2 separate regions of the Homo sapiens genome follow, and region 1 is linked to region 2. Evidence: promoter capture Hi-C in human tissues and cell types (Jung and others, 2019). All regions are on one chromosome and are shown on one strand. Each heading gives the region's core, a stretch centred on a gene start or on the middle of the fragment in contact. The rest is flanking DNA. Distances are from core to core; before and after follow the strand shown. Region 1 overlaps ITPR1 (inositol 1,4,5-trisphosphate receptor type 1). Region 2 holds the start of ARL8B (ARF like GTPase 8B).

The links. Contacts are between HindIII fragments. The study calls those that stand out against the background at their distance.
Region 1: a contact is called between a fragment that was not itself captured here and the fragment with the promoter of ARL8B in region 2, in 1 of the 25 tissues and cell types used here (thymus).

What each region holds. Positions count from the first base shown.
Region 1 is chr3:4,799,798-4,807,661 of GRCh38, reverse strand. It overlaps ITPR1 (inositol 1,4,5-trisphosphate receptor type 1), which reads right to left. Exons shown (of 62, transcript NM_001378452.1): 54 at 7,062-7,237; 55 at 1,395-1,559. Among named protein-coding and RNA genes, the nearest start is that of EGOT, 52 kb to the right of the region's middle. The HindIII fragment of the contact is 7,959 bases long and covers 2,116-7,864 here.
Region 2 is chr3:5,119,389-5,126,853 of GRCh38, reverse strand. ARL8B (ARF like GTPase 8B) reads right to left here and starts at 4,562. Exons shown (of 7, transcript NM_018184.3): 1 at 4,266-4,562. The coding sequence starts at 4,388. LOC124906212 (a long non-coding RNA gene) reads right to left here and starts at 3,795. Exons shown (of 2, transcript XR_007095800.1): 1 at 3,138-3,795. RefSeq lists silencers at 816-1,110, 4,497-4,756. The HindIII fragment of the contact is 21,507 bases long and covers 1,245-7,465 here.

The sequences.
Region 1 (7,864 bases), core at 4,846-7,345, 320 kb after region 2:
GCCAAAATCCACCCCTAATGGTATGAGCTAATCCTAGTGATCTGAACGGTGAATTCCTTATGGTGTTTTGGACGGGGGAAGGAATATAGAATGACAAAGACAATAAAATAGCTGGCAATCATTCGGCAGTGCTATTCTAAGACCCTGACCTGAACAGCTGCATGTAATCCCTGTGACGGCCCTGTGAGGGAGATACACTGTTCTCATTTTGTAGATGAGGAAACTGTGGCACAAGGCAGTCAAGTACGTTAAGCGAAGGGAGCATCTCACACAGTTGCATTTTGTACTTTCAAATCTCTAACCTATTGCAGAAAGATAAGAGTAACTCCCAGCTTCTGATGCTGAACTGCTCCTCAGTTCACTTTAAGAAAACGCAATAGGATCAAACTAGATCGTGGCTGGATGCCTCTCATACGCGCTTCGGGGGGGTTTTCTAAGCATCTCCCTGAAGAGCTTCCCTTGCTCTGCCTTTTGTAAGCCCCCCTCTCTTTGTAAGCCCCCCTCTCTTTGTAAGTCCCCCCTCTCTTTGTAAGCCCCCCTCTCTTTGTAAGCCCCCCTCTCTTTGTAAGCCCCCCTCTCTTTGTAAGTCCCCCTCTTTGTAAGCCAACCCTTAGGCCTTGATCATTTTTGTCCTCACAAATATTTTAATATTCCTAGGCTGTTTATGGTGTTGCTTGCAGATAGGTCAGTTTTATGCTTCCTGTCATTTTATGTAGGCACAAGAAAATGGTTTCTTATCTACAACGCCACAGGTCTAGATTCCCTCCAACTACAGGAAAGTAAGTAGTTCCTTGATTTGTCATTTAAAAACCTGCTCAGGAGGAAGGTGATGGAACCAGCTTGTCTTACAGACTGTCAAGACATTAAGCACTTGGCTCATATCGGAGGAAAATGAGCTACTGAAAGGGTCTCCTAGACCAATAAATCTACTGAGCTCATGATCATGAATCCCGGGGCTTCAAAACTAGCTCCTACTCTTATGGTCGCTACACGTGTTCACAAGAAATGGACTCCCTGAGAGCTGTTGGATGACAGCCTCAAAAACACTCCTCTTGGTGTAAGTGCGGCTGAGTCTAAGAAGTAAAGAAAAACAAAGGTGCATGGAAAGGAAACATCTCCTGAACCTACTACAGGCATGTTCCATTACTGAGAAGTAACAGATCGGGAGTGCCCAGTACACAGTGCGGTTGTGTGACTCTTGAATTCCTGGGCTGACCCAATTCCTGTGGAGCTTTCCTCTCAGATCCCCCAAAGGCTGCCAACTGTGGAGCTTCAATCTTGGTGGACCAGGCACACCAATCACCATTAAAAGGAAGGGTCTGTGATGAGAGAGAGGACATAGGACACTCTCCTAGTTTCCCCACACATAAAATATTTCCACACCAGGTACTCACCAGCAGACTGTAGAAGAATTCATGGACAAAGAGCCCCATGGCACAGATCACCAGATACAACAAATGATAGAGGAACTCAACATCCAGAACCATGGCTCGGTAGCCTCTTGTGAATGTCCCACAGTTGCCCACAAAGCTCATTAGAAAGATGATTTTATTGCATACCTGAGAACAATGACAGGAACAGTCAGATGGCACGGACTGTGCCAAACTCTTCATGAGAGCAACGAGAGCATCTCACACAAATGTATTTCAGTCACCGTGCCCAAACAAACGCTTCCTTTTCCACCCGGTGCCCACCAAACCCGCCAAGACCCATTTGCAGATCTAAGTCATTTCATTACTTTGCTTTTCAGGCATATTACAAATTACATGGTAGTCAAATAACTTCATGCGCAACAGTAATCAAGTAGCATTTCTCTATGGCAAAAACAAAATTAACACATACTGAGATTATGATTTTCAAAATGAGATATGAATCATTTCTAACATTCTTGTATGAGTTAGTCAAACACAGAAGTCACCTCAATCCACGAACCCTGTGATCAGCATGATCAAAAGCATTTTCTGAATTTGTTACATTCTAGGCACTGTAAGGTGGCAATTTAATGAGCAGTGATCAGTTCTTGCCTTTCAATGCTCCTAAGTTCACAGGGAAAACAACAATTTTCTTGGGGGAAAAAAAATATAAGGGACTTCAGGATGAGTTCTATTCCCCTGCCCTCTCTTCTGGGAATAACTTCTAATTTTCCTTTGGGGACCATTCCTCTCTGAGTAGCAGTCTTTGAGGTCTGGGTGGGGCTCCAACCTGGCCATCACAATATTGTATTCCCCTGGGTACAATGACTGGTTTAGAGATAGACACAGGACCAAATGGAGCCAATGATGTCCACTGAGCTCTTTCTTGGGATTGCAGCCAAAGATAATTTTGTTCTTTCCCACTGACCTTGAACCTGAGCAGCTGTGAACTCTGGAGCTGCCACATTACCAACACTGAAGGCACCACCAGCACTGGGGACACAGAGCCAAAAGATGGCAAGGAGGAACTGGGCCCTGAGGACACTGTGTGAGCCCCTGTATCAGCTGTGCCTGAAGCGAGGCTGTTGGTTTCTTGGTCAAAATGAACCAATACATATTCTCCTTTGCTGAGGCTAGCATGGATTAGGTTTTCTGACATCTGCAACTGAAGGAGTCCTAACTGAACTACTGTGCAATATAGTCTCACCTTTGATAGAAACCCCAATGCCTGGAAGTCCATCTCTAGCAATATGTTGACAGAAAAACTTGGCTCAGGAGGAGGCCAGAGAGGGACCTCTCTGGATGCACTTGGTAAAACCATCTTCTGCTACTCTAGCTCCCTTGGCCACAGGTGCGGGGGAAATACTGCCAGTTAATCTGGTAGGTCGGTGTAAGTGAGCTTCTCGGCAATCAGATAAGCGAGGAAGCCGACACCCACAGATCGCTGCTGGCTTTCTCAGACAGGCTAAGCATTCAATCTGCCAATTTTTTCCAAAATTCTCACCTTTGCTAGTGGAGGGGATTTCAGAGGGTGGGAAAGTATCACTGATTCTGGATGATCCATGATGATGTGGTTTCAGGGAGAGGCAGATGGTGCCCTGGGTGACATCACACATTACAGCACCTCAAACACACCCCAGATCCTGCCAACTTAACAACAGGGTGATCCACTTCACCTGAGTCCATTCTCCCCTCTAACTTCTGCCCTAGTTTTCTCCATTGCTTCCCCAGGAAATAGCTGCTATTTGTGGTCTCAGCCTGCGGCTGGACTCTGCTTGTTAGTCTTAGATCTGGCTTCCATCCCCACCTCTCAACAGAGACAGCTCATGTGAAGTCTCCAAGGATTCTGCGCACCCAGCAGTCTTCCCGTCTGCTCTTAGCATCTTTCCCAGCTCCCTGCGGCGTGACAAGTCTCCCAGCGCACCCTGCTCACCACTCTCCCAGCTGGGCTTTAGGACCCCACCTTCTCCTCCTCCAGCTCTCAGAACTCCAATATTCTCTCTCTGTCTCCGTCCACAGGTACTTTCCCTCTCCCATACATTCCATGTGGGTGTTTCTCTCTTTTAAAATTCACTCTAGGCGGGGCATGGTGGCTCACGCCTATAATCCCAGCACTTTGGGAGGCCGAGGCGGGTGGATTGCCTGAGCTCAGGAGTTCGCGACCAGCCTGGGCAACACGGTGAAACCTCGTCTCTACTAAAATACAAAAAATTAGCCAGGCATGGCGGCACACACCTGTAGTCCCAGCTACCTGGGAGGCTGAGGGAGGAGAATTGCTTGAACCCAGGAGGCGGAGGTTGCAGTGAGCCGAGATTGTACCACTGTACTCCAGCCTGGGTGACAGATCGAGACTCTGTCTCAAAAAAAATGTAAAATAAAATTTACTCTAAATAATTATTTATTATAGCTGTTTGCCCCCTACCAGCTTATGTTGTTGTAAATGGTAATTAATTATCTCAGTTGAGTCTTTCCCCCAACTGATTTGTGTTAAAGAAGTGATAACTGTGGAATGATTATCAGAGAAGGCCAGAGAAGAAAAGAACTAGACAGCCCATAGAAGACAGCCTCTGAAATACTGAACATTTTTTCTACCTAGTTGTTTATGTAATTCTTTTGTATTTCTTTCTTAAATGGTTTCCTCTCACTGCAGGCAATCCCTACATTCCCCTCCCCACACTGATCTCTCTCTGTAGTTCTGGTCATGTATTTCCAAATGCCGCAGCTCACGTTAACAGCGTGTCTTTCCACCTGAAGCCCAGTAGGTCAACGATGTAAATGCATTTTCACCCTGAAAAACTAAATCTTTGCATGACTTCATTTTAGATGGCCACATTATTCTTCTCCCAATCATTTGTGACTGAAAATTTGGAGTCATATTTGCCTCCTTCATTACCCAATCAAGACAGTGATACCCTCTTTGTCTGAAAAAGGGACCCAGAGTGGCAGTATGGTTTGGTTCTGTGTCCCCCCCAAATCTGTTAACTTGTAATCTCCAGTGTCAGAGGTGGGGCCTGGGGGGAGGTGACTGGATCATAAATAGTTTAGCGCCACCTGTCCCGGATACAGTATAGTGATAGAGAGCTGGTTGTTTAAAAGCGTGTAGCGCCTCCCCATCCGCTTCCTCCTGTTCCAGCTCCAACTTTGCTGCTTTTACTCCGCCATGAGTGAAAGCTCCCTGAGGCCTCCCCAGAAGCAGATGCTGCCATGCTTCCTGTACAGCTGCAAAACCTCAAGCCAATTAAACCTCTTTTCTTATAAATTACCGAGTCTCAGGCATTTTATAGCAATGTGAGAACGAACTAATAGAAGCACATTGCTTTCTGGGTGGGGTAAGGCTCTGACTCTGTGCCCACCATGTGTTACTATTTCCTCATCTCTCTTTCTCTCTTTCTTTCTTTCTCTTTCTTTCTTTCTTTTTTTTTTTAATCAGTCTCATTCTGTCACCCAGGCTGGAGTGAAGTGGCACCATCTCAGCCCACTGCAACCTCTGCCTCCCAGGTTCAAGAGATTCTCGTGCCTCAGCCTCCCAAGTAGCTGGGATTACAAGCATGCATTACTATGCCAGGCTAATTTTTGTATTTTTTTTTAGTAGAGAGGGGTTTCACATGCATACTGGCCAGGCTGGTCTTGAACTCCTGGCCTCAAGCAATTTTCCCGCCTTGGCCTCCCAAAGTGCTGGGATTACAGGCTTGAGCCACGGTGCCCAGCCTGTTTCCTTCCCATTTCTGACGTCCATACCTTCCTTCTTTCTTCTACACTATGTCCAAGACTCAGGCTTCTCAAACCTAATCAAAGCGTCGCTACAGCCCCTAAAAAGCCTCCTTGCCTCTAGTCCCTCCTGATGAATCCACATAACAAGCCATACTGAATGCATTTTCTCAAGAATACTTCTTTGTATGGACCATTTCTTGGCTCAAAAACACCACAGGCACTTTCCACTACTGGGAACAGAGTTTCCAACATACATTCTATACAACACTAATCTCAAGTGATACTTACAAAAAACTGCAGGAAAATAAGTTTGGGAAACAGAAAGACACTGTTTTCCTTGGAGGTTCCTAATCCATATTAGTACATTAAAGTCTGTGAGGAAGCCTGCAGTAATGAAACCTTTCATTGTGTTTACCTCAGCATTTTTCATGCGGATTCAATCACGGAACCCTTTTTTCACCTCATATTTATCAACGTGGAATATGCTCTGGGAATGCTGACCTGGGGGATGAAGTCCAGTTGCTTTATCCTAAAATTCAGTGCTGCAAGTGACTTACACAGGATCAGTTCCTACTGATCACTACTGAACCACGAATGAGGTGAAACTCTTTATTTATTGTCTGTTGATAACATCCCGAGCTTTCCCACTGTTCTGCTCTGGCCTATGGGGCCCACGAAACCAAAGAACTCTTCTCAATCCCCGCTTCATGGCCAGATCCTCTCCATTCCCTTTTTTTTAAAAATTATTTATTTATTTGTTCATTTATTTATTTTTGAGATGGAGTCTCCCTTTGTCACCCAGGCTGGAGTGCAGTGGTGCCATCTTAGCTCACTACAACCTCCACCTCTCAGGTTCAAGTGATTCTCCTGCCTCAGTCTCCCGAGTAGCTAGGATTATAGGCGCATGCTACCAAACCCAGCTAATTTTTGTATTTTTAGTAGAGATAGGGTTCTGCCATGTTAGCCAGGCTGGTCTCAAATTCCTGATCTCAAGTGATCTGCTCACCCTGGCCTCCCAAAGTGCTGGGATTATAGATGTGAGCCACCGAGCCTGGCCCTCCATTCCTTAAGCCCTAACTTCCATCCTGCCTCCTCCCCGCTGTAAGCTTTTCAGCTTGACATGACCTGTTCTCTAAAGTCCTTGCTGCCTGTGCCATTTGAATACTCCCTTTGGGGCTTTTGCTGTTGCACTGAATTACTATATTATTTTGCGATATCACTTCCAGTTTTGCATGGGACCTCAGCTTCCTTATATACTCAGGGCAGAAACCCCTGGAAGGCATTTTTAGATCCTCCAGTGCCTCACATGTCCAAATTTTCTCCTTCCCTTCACAAGGAAACCTCTCCAATGTATGGTTTTATATCAGTTTGTCCTAAGAATTCTCCCAGAGATGAAATTGGCTTCTATCTTTCAATGGTAGTGAAACAGCATTTCTAAATGTCACCACTGACTTTTAAAGAATTGTCTCTGCTTCTCCTCTTCCCTCTCCACCTGCCCTGTCTCTGTATTTGGCCAGGCCCTCTTACCTATCCCCTCTTTTCTATGTGGCCCTTTCCAGAAGTGGGTACGGTGTTAATATTTGATCATTTCACTTATTGTCTAAAATCTTCTGTCCCAACAAACCTTTGACCAGATTGGCAAAACTAACTTAAATCTCAAAGCACTACCACTTTTTCTGCCTATCTCCTGACAGGGATAGTCCCTAAAAGTGAAAGTGCTGATGCCCAAGGGATCCATTACAAGGCTCACTGCACCACGCGGAGGTCAAGAGGGAGACGTCCACCTGCAGCCATCCCCTGCTTCTGGCTATTTAAACAGTTGCCCCAAACAATAATTTTCTGGACTGAAAGCACAGGCCAGGATTCTAGAAACCAGAGTGCAAGGCATTCCTATTAATCTGCAAACAAAACAGTGGCAAGGAAGGTATTCACACTTACATTGAAAGCGCCCAGAAGAAACAACGTGGGTTGTAACCCGACTGAAAATATCAGTCGTAGAATTGTGGAGGCAATTAAGGCCCGGATGCCATGGGGCTTGGGGAGGGCAATGACGATGGCCAGAGAGATGAGCATGGCTGTCCACAGGAGTCCCGACCAGTGGGGCTCCAGGGTTCCTGCAAGGACAAAACAGGGTTCTCTCACAAATCTGTGCCTTCACTGAGTACAGGGGACAGACCTAAAACATGCACTGTTACAGATTCCTCAATAACTTTTTTGGCTTACCAGTCCCAACTCTCACCTCAAATTCTCTGCCCCATCCATAACCAGTCCCATCAGCATTTTTTGACCTCCAAGCCTCCACACATGCTCCTTCTGCTGGGAAGTTCTTCCCTTCTCATTCATCTCAGGTCTTAGCTTTGACATTACTTCTTCCAGGAAGCCTCCCCCAATCCCCTTCCTCCCCACAAAAACATGTCAGGAGTTCCCTCCTCCTCCGTACTCCCTGCTTCCAGTCATCCCTACAGGACACTATTTCCTAATGGTCAGTTTACTTGTCTCTCTCTCACCAGATTGCACATTCCCCAGGGGAAGTACCTGGTGCCTGGCAGGTACTCACGAAAAGCTCGTTCGAGAAATAAAACTCATGCATGTGTCACACTTCACTCAAAGAAGGCGACGTGGAAGCCTAAACTTAATTTCTATTAAAAGTATGCAAAGGAAAACTGCAGGTCCCCTGCCTGAATCAGATTTCTCCAAGGGAAGGAGAAAGGCAACTTCCGTGTCATGAGCATCATGCTACA
Region 2 (7,465 bases), core at 3,313-5,812:
TACATTACACATATAGGCACATGACTTATTGTGCAATAACTGCCAGAACAGTTAGCAATGGAAAAAATACTTCATTCCTTGACACTAATCAGAAAAGACAAGACTAGGGTGTTTCTTTTTTATAATGTTCAAAACAAAAGAGAACACTACATATATCAAGTGTCTCTACATAAAACTGGATTAAATTAGGTATCATTTCAGTTTTAAAATCCTAAGGAAAGGCATTCTAAGTCTGAGCATTCTGTAACTAAGCTGCATTATCTTTTAGACTCAAACCAAACCCTACATATAATAGTAATTCAGTCTCATGAACCTTTTGAGTAAGTTAAATGACATCTATTAAATCTTCCTTAATGTTTAAGGCACATGTAGTGACATTTTAATGTTTACAAAATGTTGATTTTTACAAAAAGAAAATTGGCTTCAGCTGAAGCTTTTCATACCTGAGAAGTCGCTTCTTAAATGTGAATAAGTAAATGGTCACCTTTCTAGAGTGACACATAGTACTCAATACATCTGTATTTCTGATTCTATAAAGCAACTATTTTATATACAATACAAAAAGTGCAGCTGATTTTTTAAAAGGCTAAACTTACTATTTTGGACACATTGTTTCTACCTAAAAATCTCTAAAATCATCTTTAATCACTAACTTGGATTTTAATCACTACATCCTCAACATATTCTATAAGAATCAGGGGTTAGGTTAGAGCCTTGAGGTTAAAAAAAAAAAAAAGTATGAAATTCACTGAGGGGGTCCCTTTCAGCATCTTAAAAGCCACAGCCAATTACAGCCCAGATGTCTTTTTTCTTTTTTAAATTAATATTACTTTTAATTGACAAATCATAATTGTATACATTTATGGAGTACAATGAGATGTTCTGATACATGTTTACAGTGTGGAATGACTAATTCAAGCCAATTACACATCCATCACCTTATCTTTGTGACTTTTTTTTTCTTAACTGAAGCTACCCACACCATTACAATTTTAAAAAGAATAGTCTAATGATAACAGTGGGCTGGGCACAGTGGCTCACGCCTGTAATCCCAGCATTTTGGGAGACCAAGGCAGGCATATTACTTGAGACCAGGAGTTCGAGAACAGCCTGCCCAACATGGTGAAACCCCGTCTCTACTAAAAATACAAAAATTAGCTGGGCATGGTGGCAGTCGCCTGTAGTCCCAGCTACTCGGGAGGCTGAGGCACGAGAATAGCTTGAACCCAGGAGGCAGAGGTTGCAGTGAGCCAAGATCATGCCACTGCACTCCAGCCTGGGCAACACAGCGGGACTCCGTCTCAAAAAAAAAAAAAAGATAATGGTGGAGCCACTGGTTCACTTTGACTTCAACAGCTTTGCAGAAGTTTTGTTGTTGTTAAATATAATAATCTAATGGTGGGGGCGGGGCAGGGGGGAACACATGATGCGATTACTTTCCCCAATCCATAAATCCACTACTGCAGCCCACATCTGGATAGATACAGTGATTCAAAGTAGAAAATGATACCAGTTGAGTCCCTTCTCAGTATTTTTCAAGCCATCGTTCCTGCATTAAACAGGTACGCCCAATTACAAATAACAACAGTTACCATCTACCTATCCCCTTCTGTGGGCCAGTATGAGTGCTAGCCACTTAACATCTTTCATGTCATTTAATCCCTAGAGCAACTCTGTAAGAAACATATCATTACCTCCATTTAATAGATGGGAAAGTAAGGACTCAAAGAGGATGTAAGGCTGCTAAGCGGCAGAGCCAGATTTCAAATCCAGGGCTGTCTGACTTCAAAGGTCATGCTCATTAAGCTACACTGTCTACTGAAAACAGAAGCATAAAAATCACCAAGAAGTTTCTCAAAGATTTGCTCAACTTTTTAGAGTTCCCAAGCATAACAACTCAACTGCAACAAATACAACTGGCTGTATTAATACACCTATCCACATGAAACATTAATTCCATGTTGTCAAAGAGCAAGTTTTACAAGATGACTCCAATTCTCATCTCAAGGGGATATGAGAAAATTTACAGTTAACTGAGCTCAACTTCACTCAAGCTTATGCCTCATCTTTTCCATATTATATAAAAGCTCTAGCAGGCTTATAATCCCAGTATGCTGGGAGGCCAAGGCAGGAAGACTGCTTGAGGCCAGGAGCTCAAGACCAGCCCTGGCAACATAGCAAGAGCCCGTCTTTATAAAAAATAAAAATTAAAAATAAATAGCGAGCCATGGTGGTAGCACATGCCTGTAGTCCCAGCTACTTGGGAGGCTGAGACAGGGAAGATCACATAAGCCCAGGAGTTGGAGGCTGCAGTGAGCTACGACTGCACCACTGCACTCCAGTCTGGGTGAAAGCTCAAGACCCTGTCTCCAAAAAAGAAAAGAAAAAAATTCTAATATAAATATGTAACCCGAAGTTCATGTTTCCTCATTAATTTTAGTGGTATTAGGCCAGGAACGGTGGCTCATGCCTGTAATGCCAGCACTTTGGGAGGCCGAGGCAGGAGGCTCGCTTGAGCCCAGGAGTTCAAGGCTGGCCTGGCAACATAGGAAGATCTTGTCTCTACCAGAAAAAAAAAAAAAAAAAAAAAAAAAAAATTAGTGGTATTAGATACACATTCCACTCTTCTATTCCTGCGGAAAGATAGTCATTCCAAGCGCAAAAAATCATAATATTACAATAGGAGGCCAGGCGCGGTGGCTCACACCTGCAATCCCAGCATTTTAAGAGGCCGAGTCGGGCGGATCACATGAGGTCAGGAGTTTTGAGACTAGCCTGAGCAACAAAGCAAAACCCATCTCTACTAAAAGTAATTAGCCGGGCGTGGTGGAGGACGTCTGTAATCCCAGCTACGCAGGAGGTGGAGGCAGGAAAATCGCTTGAACCTGGGAGGTGGAGGTTGCAGTGAGCTGAGATCTCGCCACTGCACTCCAGCCTGGGGGACAAAGCGAGACTCCGTCTCAAGAAAAAAAATTAATAATAATACTACTAGAAAAGGAGCCGAACAACAAGCAGGTAAATCTTCCTTATATACATCATTCTTCAAAGGACTTTGGGGTTTCTGCTAATCTCTTTTTCTCCAAGACTTACTCATTCCTGTTGCTTTATTAGTGCAAGGACTAAGAATCACAAGTTACCTATTTTCTCAAACATGAAAGCTGTGTTTGAATCATCTTGTGTAACCTAACCAGTCGGACAGCTAATCTTCAGGATTTCAACAGTCATCGAAAAGGTGGAAGAACTGCTGCCATCTCTCTTCAGAACAGTTCTAAAACTCCCCTGGCGTGTACAAGCCACTACCAGCTAAAACTGAGTCACAACAACTCTTGGGCTCTAAATAAAGATCGAGGCGAAATCTTTCACTCCTATTTATTTCCCAACCAACCAAACAAGCAAAACGAAACAATCACCTTTCTACTCAATCATTGCTGAACAAACACCACATTCTATGTAAGTCCTCAGTGCAATTTTCCTTCCACCCATTCCCTAGGCCTGCTAAGCTATGTTCCTGCCCAGTACCTTCTTTTCTCTTCAAGTGAAAAACACCATTTAAAGACCAACTCCTCTTTCGCAGGGTAGTTAACTTTATGCTAACTGCAGATCCATCTTATCTAGTCGCTTAAGACAATTAACTCTTAGCTTAATAAATACTATGTATTGTGGGCTAGCTGGAGCTCAGCAATGAGCTTGGTCTCCGCGCCTGGGGGACGGGTGAAAACAAGTAACTGAATTAGATGGGACCAGCGGCCCACAGAATTCAGGAAGGCGCTCACACTGGTCTCCCGCTTTCACAATGGGTCTATTGGTCCAAAGTGGCAACTTAAGAGAGGCTCTTAATGCTTACGCTTTCTCGTACGGCTGACGGATTTGCCAAATCCCACCCTTTGGGAAAGTGACAGACTGGACTTAACTCTTTGGCTGCCCCTACTGGGCAAACCCAAGGGAAACCCCAATCCCCAAGCGCTTTAAAAATGTGACGAGTTCAATTTAACTCTTTCCGAGCCCCCGCGGCGTTGAGGACACAGCCCTTGGAAAATGTCTACACTGACTTAACCCTTCCGCTGCCGATCTCAGTGCTACTCCCCGCGCCGCCAACACGCGGGAAATTCCAAATGCTGGCCCTCGGGAGATGACAGGCCCAGCTTCGCACGCCCCCCGCCATCAGTCCCATCGCGCCGAGGGGGGCCCCAACTCAGGCCTTGGAGAAGCGCCGGGCCGGACTCCTGGCTGCGGAGCCCCGGGCGAGTGAGTGGGCGGGCGCTCACCGCGATGACATTGACGAAGGTGGTCTTGCCCGAGTACTGCAGCCCCACGAGCGTCAGCTCCATCTCTTCCTTCCAGAAGAGCGAACGGAACCAGTCCAGCAGGCGGGAGATGAGCGCCAGCATGATGGCGGCCGGGAGCGAGAACGGACGGGAGGACGGACGAGCGGCGGCGTCGACGACTTCCACACGAGCGGGCCTCCGCCCGGACCCTCCAACGGCTCCTTGGTGCCCCGGCGCGACACGGGCGGACACCGGCGGGCGGCAGCAGCCAGACCCAGGAAGCCGAGCGGATCATATGACTCGCCCTACCCCCCACGCCCGTCCCGGCGCCGCCGTCGGCACCCACGGCAAGAGCGGCGCGGCCAATCCGGCCAGGCCCGCCCGCCGCTGGCATCGCCACCTGGTGGGCATGCTCCGCAGCACAGCGTACCCTCGGGCCCCCTTGAGGCTTTCTCTACATTCATTCATTGTTGGTTCATTCGTCATTCATCCACTTATACATTCGTTAATTCATTCATTCATTTTTTGCTATAATTGTTCATTAACAATCTGCAGGAAGACTTCAAGACTCTGGAAGAGTTGGCGTGGAATAAAAATTCCTGTCCTACATTTTTGGTAGTAGCAAAAGATAGTGTTAACTTAAAAATGACACCGTTTATAAATTTAGAAAGGAGAGCATTATTTCTTAAGAAGGGGATTATAAGCTGTAGGCAGGACGTGCAGCCTCGGGCCAAAAAAAACAAAAGTAAGCACTTTGAGAGAGGGAAGGGTGCAACAAGAATTTATATTGAGGAGTTGGCCAAGTAAACATATTTAACTTATGGAAGGAGCTATTAATATGTATGAAGGTGGTCTTACACACATAGTGAACAAATCTGTATGTTGCATATGACCTATGTTCATTTGGGGTGGCGACTTAACATTTAAATGTATTATAATCAGGCAGGGCGCGGTGGCTCATGCCTGTAATCCCAGCACTTTGGGAGGCAAAGGTGGGCAGATCACCTGAGGTCAGGAGTTTGAGACCAGCCTGACCAACATGGTGAAGCCCCATCTCTACTAAAAATACAAAATTAGCCGAACGTGGTGGCATGCACCTGTAGCCTCAGCTGCTTGGGAAGCCGAGGTGGGAGAATTGTGTGAACCCAGGAGGCGAAGGTTGCAGTGAGCTGAGATCATGCCACTGCACTTCAGCCTGGGTGATAGAGTGAGACCCTCGTCTCAAAAAACAACAATTAAAAAATAAATAAAGTAAAAGTATTATAATCAGGCCCTCCACATCAGAAAGTGAATCAGGGACGGGAAAGGTATTGAAGTGCTTGGCCTCTGTAAAACCAGCCAGAACTGGGCTGGGCGCGGTGGCTCACAGCCTGTAATCCAAACACTTTGAGAGGCTGAGGCAGGTGGATCAGGAGGTCAGGAGTTTGAGACCAGCCTGGCCAACAAGGTGAAACCCCGTCTCTACTAAAGATACAAAAAATTAGCCCAGGCCGGGTGCAGTGGCTCATGCCTGTAATCCCAGCACTTTGGGAGGTCAAGGCGGGCAGATCACCTCAGGTTGGGAGTTCAAGACCAGCCCGACCAACATGGTGAAACCCCGTCTCTACTAAAAATACAAAAATTAGCGGGACATGGTGGCACGCGCCTGTAATCCCAGCTATGCTGGAGGCTGAGGCAGGAGAATCGCTTGACTCCGGGAGGCAGAGGTTGCAGTGACCGAGGTCATGCCACTGCACGCCAGCCTGGGTGACAGAGCGAGACTTCATCTCAAAAAAAAAAAAAAGAAAGAAAGAAAAGAAAAAGCCAGCCAGAACCAATGCATGGATGCATGGTTAGTTGTCTCTTAACAGGAGAAAGTTACAGAAATCAGTCTCTTGTCTAATCAAAGCCATAGTTAGGCTTGTGGAACAGGTCAGTTAGCCTGCATCTGGCAGAGAGTTGTAACTGTTTTAATTGTGTTTATCTCCAGGCCAGTGCTGGTTTAGCTGGTAGAGAAAAAGAGAAACCTTGCACTTAGTCATTTAACTCTTGCCTAGTATGGCCTTAGGTCCTGTTTATAATTTGGTATCTAATTGTCACAAAGAGTCTGTTCTGTCAGTCTTGTGATCTCTATTTTAACGTTAATGTTGGTCGTTTGTTGTTTCTTTCTTTTTTTTTTTTTTTTTTTTGAGACGGAGTCTCGCTCTGTCGCCCAGGCTGGAGTGCAGTGATGCGATCTCGGCTCACTGCAAGCTCCGCCTCCCGGGTTCACACCATTCTCCTGCCTCAGCCTCCCGAGTAGTTGGGACTACAGGCGTCCGCCACCACGCCCGGCTAATTTTTTGTATTTTTAGTAGAGACGGGGTTTCACCCTGCTAGCCAGGATGGTCTCGATCTCCTGACCTCGTGATCCGCTCGCCTACGGCCTCCCAAAGTGCTGGGATTACAGGCTTGAGCCACCGCGCCCGGCCGGTCGTTTGTTGTTTCTAAACGACATAAGGGAGGAGGTATAACCAGGTGTGACTGACTTCCCATCTTGTGGAGGGAAGGAACTCAGTTTTTAAGACTTTCCTAGGATAGGCCGGGCGCGGTGGCTCACGCCTGTAATCCCAGCACTTTGGGAGGCCGAGGTGGGCGGATCACAAGGTCAGGAGATCGAGACCATCCTGGCTAACACGGTGAAACCCCATCTGTACTAAAAATACATAAAATTAGCCGGGCACGGTGGCGGGCGCCTGTAGTCCCAGCTACTCGGGAGGCTGAGGCAGGAGAATGGCGGGAACCCGGGAGGCAGAGCTTGCAGTGAGCCGAGATGGCGCCACCGCACTCCAGCCTGGGCGACAGCGAGACTCCGTCTCAAGAAAAAAAAAAAAGATTTTCCTAGGATCTCTTTGTCCAGGAAGGATCTGTTTAGTCAGTTGAGGGGACTTAGTTTGTTTGTTTATTTGATTTTGAGACAGAGTCGAGCACAGTTGCCCAGGCTGGAGTGCAATGGCAGATCATAGCTCATTGCAGCCTTGAATTCTTGGGCTGAAGTGATCCTCCTGCTTCAGTCTCTCAAAGTATTGGGATTACAGGCGTGAGCCACCATGCCCACACCCAGCCCAGGAATTTTTTTTTTTTTTTTGAGACAAGTCTCGCTCTGTTGCCAGGCTGGAGTGCAGTGGTGCAATCTCGGCTCACCGCAACCTCTGCCTCCCGGGTTCAAGCAACTCTCCTCC